Linked DNA regions of Homo sapiens: region 2 is linked to region 1. The links are contacts of gene promoters, found by promoter capture Hi-C in blood cells and fetal thymus (Javierre and others, 2016). All regions are on one chromosome and are shown on one strand. Each heading gives the region's core, a stretch centred on a gene start or on the middle of the fragment in contact. The rest is flanking DNA. Distances are from core to core; before and after follow the strand shown.

Region 1 (7,730 bases), core at 864-3,363:
TTTCAAAGGTGAAGGGAATGAATGAGATAAATTATGATTTCTTCTCTTCCCCAAATTAATTACTGCATTTCAATTCATAACTTATATTGTTTGCCTTCTTTTTTTGAAGAGCGTGTACCTCCGTTTATCTAGTTCACAGGAGTTCGTCTTAAACGTGTTTCTCAGTAAACCATCTTACATGTTTACATAAATATTTCACGTCAGAAGTGTTTGTCTCGAATGCCTTCGGGCAAACCAAAGTGGAACAGGTGCATTAGGATCTCTGGTCTGATAGGAAGGCCCGCTGTTTCTAAAGTCAGTGTGTGTGTGTGTGTGTGTGTGTGTGTGTGTGTGTGAGAGAGAGAGAGAGAGCGTATGCATGTGTGTCTGCATGTGTGTGTGCGCGCGTACATTTGGGAGACGGTGTGTAAGTGCACGGGGGTAAAACTCGGCGCGCGGGTTTCATGTGAATGGAATCGTTCTCTTGTGCAATTGCAGCTACAAATCACTCTCGTGATCTAAAGACCTAAAAAAAATGCAATTCTGAATTCTCGGGCACGGTATTTGGAAACTGAGTCCCACCCGAGGCCCCAGCGGCCTAGGGAAGCCAGCCGTCATCGATTCAGTGAGCGCACGAGCGCCTGGATCGTCGGCCACCCGCCATCCCAAGGGCCGCGCTGGGGGAAGAGCGCCACGGCCTCAGAGCCCTCTTGGAGCTCCGAGGCCAGGTTCGGGGGCTTGGACCCAGCGGGCAGGTCCCGCATTTCTCGCTTTTATCTGAAGATTCTGGCAGGTCCCGCCTCCGCTGCCACCTCGACGCCCCTGTCCGGCTCTCAGCGCCGGACCCGCACCGGCCGCGGTGGGCGGGGCAGAGAGAGGGGCAGGGGCGCCCCGGGGCTCCCCGCTGAGTCTTTACCTGTTGCATGGAGAAACGCGTAGTTGACATCCACTTTGGAGCAGCTGCAGGGCTTCTGGTCGCAGGCGCAGGCGGCCTTCCGGGCGGCGGCCCGCGGGGGTTGGCTCCCGCCGCTCTCCGCCGGCTTCTCGGCGTCTCCGTAGAGCAGGGCTGGGTAAGGACACCGAACGCGGGCCTCGTCAATCCTCCGCCGGGCCCGGCTCCCTCGCTCCCGCCTACCCGCAGCCAGGAAACCCCGACTCCGCTGACTGGGATGCGGAGGTGAGAAGACTGCTTGGACCCCGCGGGCCGACCTTGGCCGCCCCGGTCCCTGGGCACTCACCGCACAGTTTGTTTCCGATGCCGCCCGTGAACTTCTGAGCCACTTGGCACCAGGCTCGCGCTGCAAGGAAGAATAGGCAGGCAGACAGCGAGGCAGAAAGAGAACAACAGACGGACGTGTGAAATTTCGTTCTATGTGAAAATCAATCAGTCCGGGGTCCTAGGAGGGGCCGCCTTCCTCCTGGGGGCCGCTCAGGACTCGGTGAGGCCGGCAGGTGCAGAAGGCAAGCGGGAGGCTGGCGGCCCGGGCCAGCCCTCATTTCCTTTATCTGTTTCCCGAGGAGAAGCCCACACCGCTGCCCTTCCAGGTGCCAATCGGCTCAGGCAAATTCCTCTCCCTGCCTACCTTGGACGAGTTTTCCTAAACACTGAAGCTATCCATTTTTTCGCAGACTGTCTTTCTAGATAAAGAAATCTCTCACCTTTCCCATTTTTTTTTTCTATCTTCACGGTCACTCCGTCCCACCCCAGGGTCCAGACACCCGGATCTTAGCAGCGCCCCAGGACCACGGAATTCCATGTCCCCGAGACACCGCGGTCTTTGGGGGGCTCTTCCAACCTTCTGTGGAACGGGCCTGAGACTATTTGGGCGTCTTCCCAGGGTACAAGAGGCTGTAGAGGTCTTGAGCTCTTGGGCCGTCAAGGACTTAGCCCAAAAGCAGGGAGAAGCGCCCGAAGAAGTTTCCTGTTGCAGGTGGAAAAACCTCCTTCGTCTTCTCCGTAGTTCCGCAAACCCCAGACCACCGCAAAACTCGCCCGCCGCAGGCCCCCGTTCTCCTTCCTACCTGTGCCGGGATTCTCGGAATCCCCAGAGCCATCTTCCGACCCGAAAGACCAAAAGCCAGAGCCCGGAGATGCCATCGGCTTTGGAGACTGGAGCAGGTCGCCTGCGAGTGCGAGCTGCGGGCGAGCTGCCTCGGGCTTGGCCCTGCGCGCGCGTGCGTGCCCGTGTGGCGGGAGGAGGGCACCGCGCGGGGACCGGCGGGGCCGAGCGGCGAGGGCGGGTGTCACGCAGGAACAGAAAACGTGCGTGTCTGTGCGTGTGTGTATGCGAGCTGGAGACAGGGTTTAGGGACGTGGCAACCCTTTGGAAGCCGGGGAGCTTTAAAAGAGACCGGGACTACCTAAGGGTCCTCGGAGCCCGGACTCAGGAAAGCGCGGAGAGCCCCAGAGCATTTGAGGGAAAGGGAGCCCAGTGGGGATGAATGAGGGGGCGGCGGAGGAAAAAAACACGAGAGAGGGAGGGAGCTGAGTCGTGAGGATGCGAGGCAGACCATGCACGCCAGCTGGAGTCAGAGTGAGGGGGTGGGAGGCGTGCCAGCGCGTCCTCGGGCGAGCCAGAGGCGGGAAGTGCGGGCGGCCGCTGTCCCGGGTGCTGCCACAGCCGCTGCGCGCCAGCGTCAGCGAGGGGCAGACTGGGGAGACCTCGGCGAGGCGGGAAGCGTGGCCCAGAGGAGTTTTCTGTGTGCATCGATTGGGGTTTTGTTTGAGGTCTGGCTCCAGCTGAGGGGAAGGAAGCGGGGTTCCCGCGCCGTTTTCCTCCAAGCAGGTGCTGAGGTCACTGCGACCTCGAGAGCTCGCGCCCCGGGCGGGCATCAGGCGCCGTTCACGAGCCTGGGGAGGGGACGGCGGGGGAAGGGCTCCTACCCGCTGATGGGCTCATTTCAGCGCCTTGGTAGAACCTGACGCCTGCCTGCTGAACCGCGCCGTACCCGGGGGCGCACCGTTCCTGCGTAGCCAAGGGCTAGATCGCGGGACCCACCGTCCAGGCTCTGAGTGACGGCTGGGGAGAATGACTGCTGATTGAGGCAATTAAAATCCACGCTGGAGTCTACTGAGGACCTCGGGCTGGGGAAAAAAAAATAAAACGAATGGAAACTTCTTGGAAGAGAATGAGGCAGAGCGGCCAGAGTCGGCAGGATTGATGGCGGGTGGGGGATGGAATCAGGGCATTTGGTGACCTTGGCCCGCGGAGGCGTGGAAGCGCCCGCTGCTTGCGTGTAAGGGGGATCTGTGTGCGCCTGGGAGGGGAGAACAGGGTTTCCAACTAAGCAATCTCGGCTTTACAAATCCGAGTAGGAAAGAAGGCATCGCCTGCAGGGCCCTCGTTTTAAGGGGCTTCAAACCAATGCCCCCCCTCGCCCCCAGAGAATCTTCGCGGTAGCGGGTGACCCGGAAGCGCGAGATTGGTTCTCTCTGAGGCGTATTAGGAGGCGGTTTCTCTTTTTCTAATAAAGAAAGGAGGAGAAAGTCAGAATCGTTCTGATGATTTCCTTTCTACAAAAAGCTATTGCAGACAGGGAGGACGCCCTAAGGATTGGGAGCCCTTTGACAGTTTGCGCTGCGTTCTCCTGGCAGTGGAGATGAACTTCAAGTGCACCTCGGAGCTCCGGGGCTCTGGGGGAGACGGAGGGAGGGAGAGAGAGGAAAGGGCTGAGGTCGGCTTCCCGAGGCGGCTGCCTTCCCCGCGCCTGGCCAGAGCGCCTGTCATTTCCATTGTGTTCACAAGTCGTTTTATTTCTCTGACCTCCTGAACCAGCCACCAAAGCTGCTAACAAAGCAGAGACCCGGGGATCCCGTCTGGGCGAGCACCCCTCGACCCTCGCTTAGAAGGGACATCCTGGGGCCCATGCTGGACGCATACAGGCCCAAGTCCTGTGTGCTCGAGCATAACTGTCCCTGGTCAATTCTCTCCACAAAGCGCTGTCTTCTTCTCGCGTGCCTGAGTCCAGGGGTTCCCTGAGGAGTCATGGGATCCACACTATGGCAACTGGGCCCAGGCGCCAGGATGAGAGCAGGAAACCAGTCGGGCGTTGATAGCGTCCTGCCGAAGGCTGGCACTGAGCGTGCTAGGTGAAGTCTGTTCCAGGCTGTGGGAGCCCGGGTGGTCGAAAACTCAGGGCTCAGTTTGGCTCCTCTTTCTTGCTCTCCTGGCTCTGACACTCTAGGTCACCACAATAACAACTCCGGAAACCTAAAGACTTGTGGTTCAGCCATCTGCACTTCAGGCATGGCAGCTCCGCAGCTCTCTCCAGCCTCGCAGAGGCTGGTTCTTTGTTGAAATCCATATCAAATCCTGCAAAGGTTTTCCTTCAAGCCAGCAGTCTAGGGTTGCAGAACTTTTCTACTATGGATGAGTGGTTGAAAACATAAAGGTTCTTAAAAGCAAGCGTTTAAATCACACAAAACCCCCAAAGAAGAAACGGATTAAAACACCTGAATTTAACTGATTTTTTTTTCTTTTTGGTAAAGCAATGGCTTCAAGTGCTACCGTTTAAACTCCATTAAATCCCACAGCTCTGGAGTACTTTGGATCTAATGGTGATATTTACATTTTTTATTTAAACACACCCTACTTCAGATGCAGATGGAGATCTGATTTGTCTTTCCTGAAGGCTGTCCCTCCCTAGACGGTAATTTGCTTTGTAATGACTTTCATTTCACTAAAGAGCCCATTCCCCCTCTCCGGGGCTTGGGGTTGGAGATAACAAAAGAGCTCTGGGAGGTAATAATTACAGTCATTAGTTCACAAAGGAGGCAGCCAGTGAATGGGAAGGGAAGGCGGCCGCTTTGGAAGGCCCTTCCTCAGATGAGGGGCGAGAGACCCAATCCTCCGACTTGTAGGGACAGTTTCCTTAGGTGTCTGGTTTACCAACATATGGGTCTCAGGCTGACCCAAAGAAGAGTGTCTGGCACACATTTTCCTGTGTCCTTCCCGTGCTTAAATGTCAAAGGACAGAGAAAGAAGGGAAGATGGAAAGAAAAAGAGGAAACAACCACGGAAGAACACAAAAATATTGCAACCAAGCATTCACCAAGCCTTTGCCATTCTCTTTTCTATTCTCACTTAAAACATTGGTGCAGGAAAAATTTAGGGAGGGAGTCTGTTGCCTCCCTCCATAAATTCTCCCTACACCAACAGAAATAACAGAAGGGGCTGAGTGCCAGGGCTCTTGTCTTCAGGGGCCACCCAAGAAGGACGCCTAGATTGAAGGGTGGCCAGGCAGAAAAGCTGAGCTTAGCTTACTGCTCCTTACCCCTGGCCCCTGCTCCGCCCTCCCCACAAACCCAGGCCTTCTGGAGGCAAGTGGACAGGCAGCTAGAGGTGGAAGGGGGCCAGGCCACTTTGGGCTTTAGACACCCCTGCCCCTCCCAAGCCCCTCTCTCTGGTGACCTGCTGTGCTGGTTTCCTGGGTACTGGGCCATACTCAGCTCCTCAGTGCATTCGCACAGCTGAGGGTTACTCCTTACTTTCAGTCGCAACCCCAGCAAGACTGTGCCGCTAACCCAGGGAAAAAGAAGGCCTGGAGGGCACTTGGACTCTGCCATGCCATAGCTGCAGGTTTTCCCTTGGCCACATTGCATCTGTAAAATGAAGAGATTACACGAGTTGGCTCTGGGGACCTTTTGGTGCCAACTCTTTGAGTTGGCGAGATTACTATGCCCTGTGGACCAGCGGCGCAACAAACGCTCTGAGCCCTCTGCACATGCCCTCACTCACTCCTCGAATATTTCCCCAGAGTCTTTTGACTCCGGCTTGTGGGTGCAGGAGCCAAGGGCACCCACACAAGGGGTGAGCCCCATCGTGATCAGAACCCTTCTTCCAATTCCATGCAACGACCTCATCACCTGTCCTCACCCTCTCCAGGTTGCTTAGATGGGAATGTCAGTTTCATAAAACAGCTTAAACCGGGTTTTAGAATAAGGTGCAGTCAACCCAGGAATGCAAACTTCTGTCCACCCACTAGCCTCCCCCATTTTAAATACACACAAAGTCGGAGTAGCAAAGATGGCCCCAAATCTGCAGACCGGGAGAACCTGAAATCTGACAGTTCCACCCAGTGGGGGCACTAGCATCTTTATAGATGGGGCCAAAGACAGTCACGCAGATTGGGAAGGCATCGTGCAGGCGAGCACGTGTGGTGTGTTGGGGATTTAGACATTGGAGGCCTCTGCGTTTGTGTGGCAAGGGGTTTTAGCTTAGATTGTGTTTGTCTGAAGTGGCTGGGTGGTGCTGGGAGTTCGCTGATGAAGGCACCTCAACGCCCCTCCTTGGGCCCGTCACCAGCACAGCCTTATAGCAGAAGCCCCTCAGAAGCCCTAGAGGGGAAAATGAGGGATCAGTCACGCAAACCACGGGTTTTCCAAGGCACTTCCTTTATTTAGTGACCTTAATAACCAAAGGAAGAGAAAGAGCAAGCTTGAGATGAAATACATCTTCGAAATTCTCCCCACCCCTCCCGGGCTTTTTTCTCTAAGATTCAACCGCTAGCAAGTGTTCTGTTGGCCAAGAAAAGCCGTTTCCAATAAAAAAAAAAATCTGTGAATTCAGTCACCCCAAATGAGAGAGGGGTTGGCGAGATCCCAGGCGCAGTGGAGTCCACAGGAGTCACAAAAAAAAAGAACAAAGTGATAGATTAGGGGAACAAGGACAGGGTTGCCACAACTGGCGGGCTGGTGAGAAAGGAGGGTGCGGGAGTTCCGAGAGAGAGCGTCGGGGGAGGTTTCCCGAGGGCTCCCAGGTCTCTTGTTTCGGAGCACGAAGGCCGGCCCGGGCACTTGAGGGCCGAGCGCAGCAGGCAGCCTCTGCGGAGATCAGGGCCGCAGCTTCAGTGCCTGCTGGTGCCAGCCCCAGAGTGCCTGCTTGGCCCCTGCTGCCCCGCAGGCTCCAGCGCCTTCCGACGGCGGTGACTGCCTCGTTGAACGGTTAGGACTGCTGGACGAGGCGCCGGCGCTGGGAGGTTTTGCGCAGGAGCCTCCTGAAGTCGTAGGGGTTGGCTGCTGGCTCTCTCTCCTCCTCCTTCTCGGGGCTCTCCGCCGCCCAGCACCTGCAAGTGAAACCCAGGGCCCAAGTGTCAACCTCACCACAGTGAGCAGCGCGTCCCCACCTACCCCGAGTTAGGCGGGTCCTCTTCCTCCCACGTTCTGCCAACCGCGGACATTTAGGAAAGGCACAATCGAAACGACTGGATAATGGCCAAACGTATCTGCGATAATTCTCAACAGGTTTTAAAAACTCCTCTAAGCTGAGGAGCAGAGGGGCTGGTGGAGCCTGGTAATGGTGTTTAGATACGTGCTAACTAAAGCTTCAGAAGGTGCAGTTTGGAAAGGTGAGTTTGGATTGCAATAATTCACAACCAATAAACAAATATTTATTTTAATACCTTAATTTTAACACACTTTGGTCAAACAAAAAACTCAAAGTGCCCAAATAGACACTCAATATTTTGCATTTTAAAACTGCTCAGATGTTTCTTTAAAAAATGCTCACTCAAAATCTGACCAACTGCTCTGTTAGTGACACCAAGAGCTATGGGCCTTGTTGGCTTTTTCAGTGTTTCAATGTTTTCAATGAGGCTGCTGGGCTAAGTTTCTGAATCCATTGCTGAGAACCCCTGCCAATGTTTACCTTCAGATTCTGCAGCTTGTCTGGAAAGTGGGGTATTCCCTAAAAATGCAGCTACATAGATTCATTCACTCCCCATTGATTCATTCATTCATTCACTGAGCACCT
Region 2 (7,723 bases), core at 2,500-4,999, 1.4 Mb before region 1:
TAATGAGTAGCACAGAGGCAAGGGACAGTAAATACAGCTGCCCCCGCCCCTACACCTCCCCTTCCCTGCCCTGCACACTCAACATCAAGGCCACTGGTGCAATGTGGGTTTCATTACTGGCTCAAAGACAATATTTCACTGAGTTATAATTTCAAGATGTTATTGAAAAACCCATACTGTGTTTGTTTTTATCTCTACCTACCCCAGTCCAAGTGTTTTCTTAAATCATTAAAAAAAAAAAAAAAAAAACTCTTTAACGTGGCTCCACCCAAGTGGTCATATTTCTAAGGGTCAGGAGCGATGCACACAGGGGCTGGTGAAACCCAAAACGGTTTGGGGAAGGATGATGCTATTTCCTCTGCCTCTCAGGGGAAGAGGAGAAAAAGCTGTGAATCCGTTAAGTACATAAGCAGGATAGTGTGGGTGGCCCCAGAGAGGGACACCTGTTTTGCTACTAAATGCAAGATCACAAACACAGTTTTTTCCATTATAACTATCCTATCTGAAGCTCAGCCAGCAGAAATTCAGAGCAAGCTCTCACAAGGTCTTAAGGGCATAATCTTGGAAAAAAGCCACTGCACTAAAAGATAAAGTCTACAGACATTCTTTTTCATAGATGCGGACTATTCCGTGGTGTGGCTGTACTACATATTGGCGGACATTCGGGTTGTTTCCATTTTTTCCTATTACAAACAGTGCAGTAACATAAATAAATTTAAACACATATGTATATATGTATACATGTATATCTGGAGGATAGATTCCTACAATTATTGTTGATAGGTTAAGAGTACGAATATGTATATTTTTAATTTTAATAAATATTGTCATATTATTTTAAAAATGTATTCATAAAGCTTATTTCCACCAGCAGCAGATGCAAGTGCCTGTTTTCCTATGCTTGTTTCTTTTTTTTTTTTTTTTGAGGCAGAGTCTCACTCTGTCTTCCAGGCTGGAGTGCAGTGGTGCAATCTTGGCTCACTGCAACCTCCAACTGCTGGGTTCCAGCAATTCTCTGCCTCAGCCTCTGGAGTAGCTGGGATTACAGGTGCATGCCACCAGGCCAGGTTAATTTTTGTATCTTTAGTAGAGGCGGAGTTTCACCATTTTGGCCAGGCTGGTCTTGAACTCCTGACCTCGTGAGTCACCTGCCTCAGCCTCCCAAAGTGCTGGGATTACAGGCCTCCCACGCTTCTAAAAGCACTGGTTGCTGCTGCTTCTTTCCTTTCCTTCTTTCTTTTTTTGTTGTTGTTTTACTATTCAGGTGTGCATAAAGTGATCTTATTGTGATTTTTATTTGCATTTCTGTGTTTAGGTTGAGCATACTTGTATAATTATTCGTCATTTCATATGCATTTTCTCCTCTGTGAATTCCTATTCACATCCTTTGTCATAGCAGGTTGTCTTCTTATGAATTTGTAGAAGCTGAATAACATTAGCACTTGTTCTTTCACACATGTTAAAAAGTATTTTTTCCCAGACTTGTCTTTTGACATTTTCCATTATTTCATCCTTTGACTTACAGAGGTTTTTAACTTTTAGATAATCAACTCTTTGTGGATTCTGGGTTTCCTGAAGGCTTATACCACCTCAGGTCACAAAATATATCTCAAATTTTCTTTTAAAATATTTACAGTTAAAAATATCAAGAACTTTAACCCACTTATCTTAAATTCACTTTCACGTATGTTGTGTGAAGTTTGGGACAATGTCATATATAAAACAGATACCCCATCCTCTGGTGAATTGAAATGCCATTGTGATAGTATGTCTCCATGGATCTGTTTCTAAACTCTCTATTTTTTAATTCCTGTGCCTGTGCCACACTGTTTTATTTACAATACTTTTACAATAAGTTTTAATATTCTTTTTCTTTTCTAAAAATCTTGAGCAATTATAGCATATCTATTTTTATATAAGAACTTTAAAATAATTTGTCTATTAAAAAATTACCCATTGAAATTTTTATTGACATTGCATCTTATGTGGTCTTCTTGTTTCAGAAACATAGTAGGTTTCTGCTTTTTCACATCTTGTTTAAATGCCTTTTAAAAATATCTTATAAGTGCCTTCATTTGGGTTCTTACCCCACAATTAGGGTAATGTTGATAATATAAACAAATTGTGCCAGACAGTCAATCCTTATTACTCAAAGATTCTGTATTTGCAAATTCACCTGCTTGCTAAAATGTATCTGTAACCCCAAATCAATACGCACTGCATTTTGCAGTCAATCAAGGACACGTGTAGAGTGGCAAAACATGTGAATCACCTGTTGGGCACATTCTCGGATAAGGCTGAACGAAGTGATGCTCTAACTTCTTGTTTCAGCTTTCATAATGTAAGCAAGTGTCCTTTTTGTGGTAGATTTAGTGCCATGTTTTTTGTACCTTTGTGCTTTTTGTTACTGATTTTGCTGTTAGATCAGCTTTGATCAGGCATAAGTTATAGGTATGAGTTAGCATGAATTCAATGTTAATGAATCAAAAATACGTATTAAATAAGGCATCTCCAAACAGAAACCCACATGAAATAAGGTTAGGTATTTATCAGTTGACAAAAATATCCTTACAAGAAGCTTGCAGGGACCCCCTGGGAGCAATTGTTCAATAATTGCTAATTCAGCATTTGTAATGACTTATTTAAAAAAAGCTACTGCAAATAATGATAACCAGCTATATCTCCTTATCTGTTATCTTTATATCAGATTTTGATATTAAGAGTATGCTAGCTTCATAAAACTAATTAGTAAGCTTTGTGTCCTTTACTATGGTCTGGAATAGTTTAAATACATCAGTTTCTTTCTTTGGGCCAATCTATACTCATGGCTGAAAATTTCATTCCCTATTCTATTTCCTACCCAATTATATTGAGCCATATTATCAGAGCTTCTTCAACAATAGTAAGATACTCCAGTAACATGATTATATCAAATATTTTATTATTTAAATTCAATAGAAAAAATTCCAATAGAAAAAATTCAATAGAAAAAATAGAAAAAGTTCAAATTTGAACAAAGGCCAGGTGCAGTGGCTCATGCTTGTAATCCCAGCACTTTGGGAGGCCATGGCAGGTGGATAACCTGAGGTCAGGAGTTCAAGACCTGCCTGGCCAACATGGTGAAACCCCATCTCTACTAAAAATACAAAAATTAGCAGGGCATGGTGGCGCACACCTGTAATCCCAGCTACTCAGGAGACTGAGGCATTCAGTCACTTGAACCCAGGAGTTGGTTGCTGCAGTGAGCCGAGATCGTGCCACTGCACTCCAGCCTGGGTGACAAAGTGAGAGTCCATTTCAAAAAAAAAATTGAACATAAAACCCTTCCTATTATACATTTCCTCCTGAGAAATTAAAATTTGAAGATTAAATCCCAGGGATTAGAATCCAAAATTCTTAAGTTAAGTCCAAAAGTTTTTGTCCTTGTGAGTTAAAATCCAAAGAAATTAAAGTTTGATATTTATCCCCATCCTAAATATCTGACTCTGTTCAGTATCACTAGAGGGTCCTCAGTGCTTGGGTAATGTGAGGGTTGCTCAGCAGCTGTGGACGAGGCTGTCCTCTGGAAGGCTGTAGTTCATTCTGGGTCATAGGAATTGAATTAGTTTCTCATATGCCCTGCCTTTAAAAAGTCCGATATGTTCCTAGAAAAGCAAGAATATGAAAACATTGGCTCTCCCCACTCTGCCTTTAGTAAGTAAGCCAATTTGCAGACCGTAAGTGCAATTATCCCAGATAAAATTATGTTCCCAGAACCCAGTGTTTACTGTTGCCAAAGTCCAAAGCAAAAACTCACTGGTGTCTGAAGGAAGGACAGAATGGAAGGACAGTTCACCAGGACACTGATTAGTCTATGTCAGCTGTCCTGAATCCACTTCCTGGGAATTTAAACTCCCTTGGAAGAAATCATCCATCAGGAAGTTAACTTTGGCCCATACGTGAACGTACCTAGGGGAGAAAGCTACGTATACATACTGTACTTCCTATCAGAAAGTAGCATTTTGAAAATGCTATGTTCTTACTAATATTTCTGCAATGGTGCAGCCTCAGGCACTGAGTCTTATTTGAGGAATCTTCATTTCCCATCCAGAATAGGCAATCATCTTAATTTCTCATTTTCCTTTCGGGCCTTGTGTTTCTGGCAACCAATGTTTCACTGAATGTGACTCCATCCAGAGTCCACTTAACATTCTCGTGTGAACAAACATTCCGGTGCTGTGCTACAGTGGCCTTCCTATGGAAGCCTGTGAGACTTGCCAAGGATGGTTTCTCTTTCAATCCCCATGTTTATTTCAGCTGGAAGATCAAAGCTGCTCTTGATGAATATGAAGTTTTGGCTGCTAGAGCCGTTGCAAAGGCCAATTCTTCTACCACGGGCTGCTCCTCAATCCAACATGCTATGCAGTTTGGGTCCTGGGTATCTAAAGGTACGTTACATTGATTGTGTATGTAAAATGATCAGCCTAGTATACAGCAGCCAGATAAGACTCAGCCCACTCAGTTAAATCTAAGTTTCAGATAAACAACCATTACTTTTTAGCATATTCCAAATATTGCATGAGATAGACTTGCCCTAAAAACTTGTTGTTTTGTTTATCTGAAATTCAAATTTAATTGGACATCTTGTATTTTTATTTGCTCAGTATGGCAACCCTAATCTAGAGCTAACGGGAAACTACATGGTGGGAATGACTCTTCAGCCTGAGAGCAAGCACTTAAGTTCAAAGCTGAGCCCTCTAAGCTTGCCTCCTTGGCCCTGGAAAGAAATGACATTTGGAGCAGCTGCTCTGGTCCTGCCTATCAGGGCCTGGCAGCCACATTAACCTAGACACTCCCTAGTGCTCTGTAGAGTAGGCAGAGCTCAGATTCCTTGCAGCTTAAGAACAGTCAATATTGTTACACCTACCAATGCCTGAGAAGGTCTAATCCCACCATTAAGTCTTTCCTGCTGGCTCCTGTTCTAGTGAGAATCAAAGTCATGCTCCAACAGCCTTTATCGTTGCCCTTCTCACTGCAGCCTGTACACTTGCTGTACCGCTCGGGCACATCTGACCCACACACCCCATTTTACTAGGTAATCTCAGCCCTGAAAGACATTGTGCAGCTGCTTGTCTGGGTAAAATTGTTCCATTTATGGATAAAACCAGTTTAAGCACAGTAACCTGCCACAGGGTAATGTTGGCTCTTGAAAACTGGAGCTTTAAACATCCCACCCTGTCTGCATTAACATTGACCTAATGGGACTTCCAGAGACGGCACTGAAAGGTGGGAGGGGAAAAAGTATCAATTCACAATAAAGGAAATAAAAGTGAAATAAGTTCAATACACACATGTAAAAGTGCTCAATTTCACTTATGTATTTTTTTCAAACTAAAAGAAGGAGATGCAGTTTGGGGCCTATATATTTGGTAAAAATTAAAAAGATTTCTAGCATCTGGTATTATCAAGGGTGTAAAAAAAATGAGTATTTTCATATAGTCTTGGTGAGTGTAAATTGGCCTGGCCTTGTTGAACAGTAAAAATTGCACAAAAGCGTTATGCTTATGATAAAGGAAAATGGAAACAACCTAGATGTCAATTAATAGAGATAAATAGGCAGGGCATGGTGGCTCACACCTGTAATCCCAGCCAAGGCCGGGAGGATCACCTGAGGTCAAGTGTTCAAAACCAACCTGGCCAATGTGATGAAACTCCATCTCTACTAAAAATACAAAAATTAGCTGGGCATGGTGGTGGGTGTCTGTAATCCCAGCTACTTGGGAGGCTGAGGCACGAGAATCGCTTGAACCTGGAAGGCGGAGATTTCAGTGAGCCGAGATCATGCCACTGCACTCCAACCTGGGTGACAGAGCAAGACTCTGTCTCAAAAAAAAAAAAAAAGACAAATAGAGGAGTGATGGCAGCAAGCAAGATGGCAGGATAGGTGGGCCCGCCATTGGGAGCCCCCGACAGTAACAATATTTTGGCTGCTATCCATGGACAAAAGTGCCCTTGTGGGGGTTTTTCGATCCAGGTAGGAGGTTACAAAAGCTCAGTGAAGCCTGAGACTGAGGAGAGCCATTTTGAGAAGGCAGGCCAGCACCCAGGTGGCAGGATCACTGTGGTCCTAGCATCTCTGTCCTCCTGTAGACTCAGGTACACCTCCAATTGGTCCTGCCACTGGCACCATCTGCCAAAGGACCCAGGACGGGCCATGCCTGCTCATGCCTGGAGTAATAGGCCCACTGACCTCAGTCCTGATCATAAGCCTTGAAGAGGCCCAAGACCAGGCTCCAGACCCTTTCAGCCACAGTTTGGAAGTTTCCCAGTGCCTGCCTATTGGGAAACACACCTGTCCATACCCTAGGAGGTGGGCCCACACACCTTGGTCCAACTACAGATCCTGGAATAGTCTTATAACTTGGCTTCAGCCCCTCTCAGCTATAGTCCAGGAACAGAATTCAGCCCCTCTCAGCCATAGTCCAGGAATAGTCCTACCCACCAAAAGACCCAGTGGGAGATCCACACATCTGTGCCCCTAGAGGCAGGCCTGAAGAGCTCAGTCTTAGCTGTGACCCTGAAGCAGCCCTGTGACTTAGTCCCTCCAAGCTGTGGTCCAAGGTCAGTTCTGCCCACCCAGAGACCTACACAATGATCCAGGAGGAGCCACACTCACCTATGCATTTAGTAACAAGCCTACTATCAACCAACTACAGATCCTGAAGCAGACCCTTGTCCCAGTGCCAGCCCTACTGACCAAGGTCTTGGAAGTAGATCCATTCACCCAGATACCAGGCAGGATCCACATCTGCTTGAGCCACTGGTAACAAACCTGCCAACTGCAGAGCCCAGTAGTAGCTACATGACCTGGCTACAACCCCACTTGACTTCTTTTGTCAGATCCCAGGGGTGATGGCATCACTTGACTGTGCTCCTAGAGGAAATGCCATCAGCCCTGGGAGCTGACAAAAGAAGATCTTTACCTGCCAAAACCAGTCTATAAAGACTGAAAAATGTACTTGCTTCTTAAATGCACAGACACTAATGCGGAGCTACACAGATCATGAAGAATCAGGCTACCAAACCTGTTACTACCATAACACCACCAAAGGAAATTAATAAAGCTCCAATATCTCACGCCAAAGAAAGGAGATCTACAAATCATCTGACAAAGAATTCAAAATAATCATCTTAGAGAAGCCCAATAATGCAAGAGAACACAGACAGACAACTAAACAAAATCAGGAAAACAAGGTATAAACAAAATGAGAAGTTCACCAGAGAAATAGAAACCATTAAAAAATGAACCAAATAGATATCTTGGAGCTGAAGAATTCAATGACAGGACTGAAAATTTCAATAGCTTCAACAGGAAGCTGGATCATGCAGAAGAGAGAATCTAAGAACTCAAACACACATCAGTTGAAATTAGAAAGTTGAAGGAACAAAAGAAAAGAAAAGATAAGAAAAAGAAAAATAGTGAGAAAAGCATATGGGACCTATGAGACACTATCAAATTGGTGAATATGTGCATAATTAGAGTCCAAGAAGAGAGAGACAGAAATGGGCAGAAAGTTTATTTAAAGAAATAATGTCTGAAAATTTCCCAAATCTTGAGAGGGATATAGACATCCAGATTCCTGAAGTGCAAAAGTCCCAAAGCAAGATCAACTTGAATAAGATTATATTCAACACATTGTAAACAAATTGTCAAAAGTCAAAGATGAAGAAAAAATGTTTAAAG

Evidence for each region. Contacts are between HindIII fragments. The CHiCAGO score rates a contact against its expected background, and 5 or more counts as called.
Region 2: a contact is called between a fragment that was not itself captured here and the fragment with the promoter of GAD2 in region 1, in 1 of 17 cell types (non-activated CD4 T cells). The highest score is 5.8, in non-activated CD4 T cells.

The regions. Positions count from the first base shown.
Region 1 is chr10:26,211,157-26,218,886 of GRCh38, reverse strand. GAD2 (glutamate decarboxylase 2) reads right to left here and starts at 2,113. Exons shown (of 16, transcript NM_001134366.2): 1 at 2,002-2,113; 2 at 1,218-1,277; 3 at 896-1,045. The coding sequence starts at 2,077. MYO3A (myosin IIIA) reads right to left here. Exons shown (of 35, transcript NM_017433.5): 35 at 6,355-7,044. The coding sequence ends at 6,924. RefSeq lists enhancers at 161-789, 3,399-3,965, 3,966-4,531, 4,532-5,099. The HindIII fragment of the contact is 6,458 bases long and covers 1-6,418 here.
Region 2 is chr10:27,598,207-27,605,929 of GRCh38, reverse strand. No RefSeq gene overlaps it. Among named protein-coding and RNA genes, the nearest start is that of LINC02680, 36 kb to the right of the region's middle. RefSeq lists an enhancer at 6,121-6,622. The HindIII fragment of the contact is 1,988 bases long and covers 2,756-4,743 here.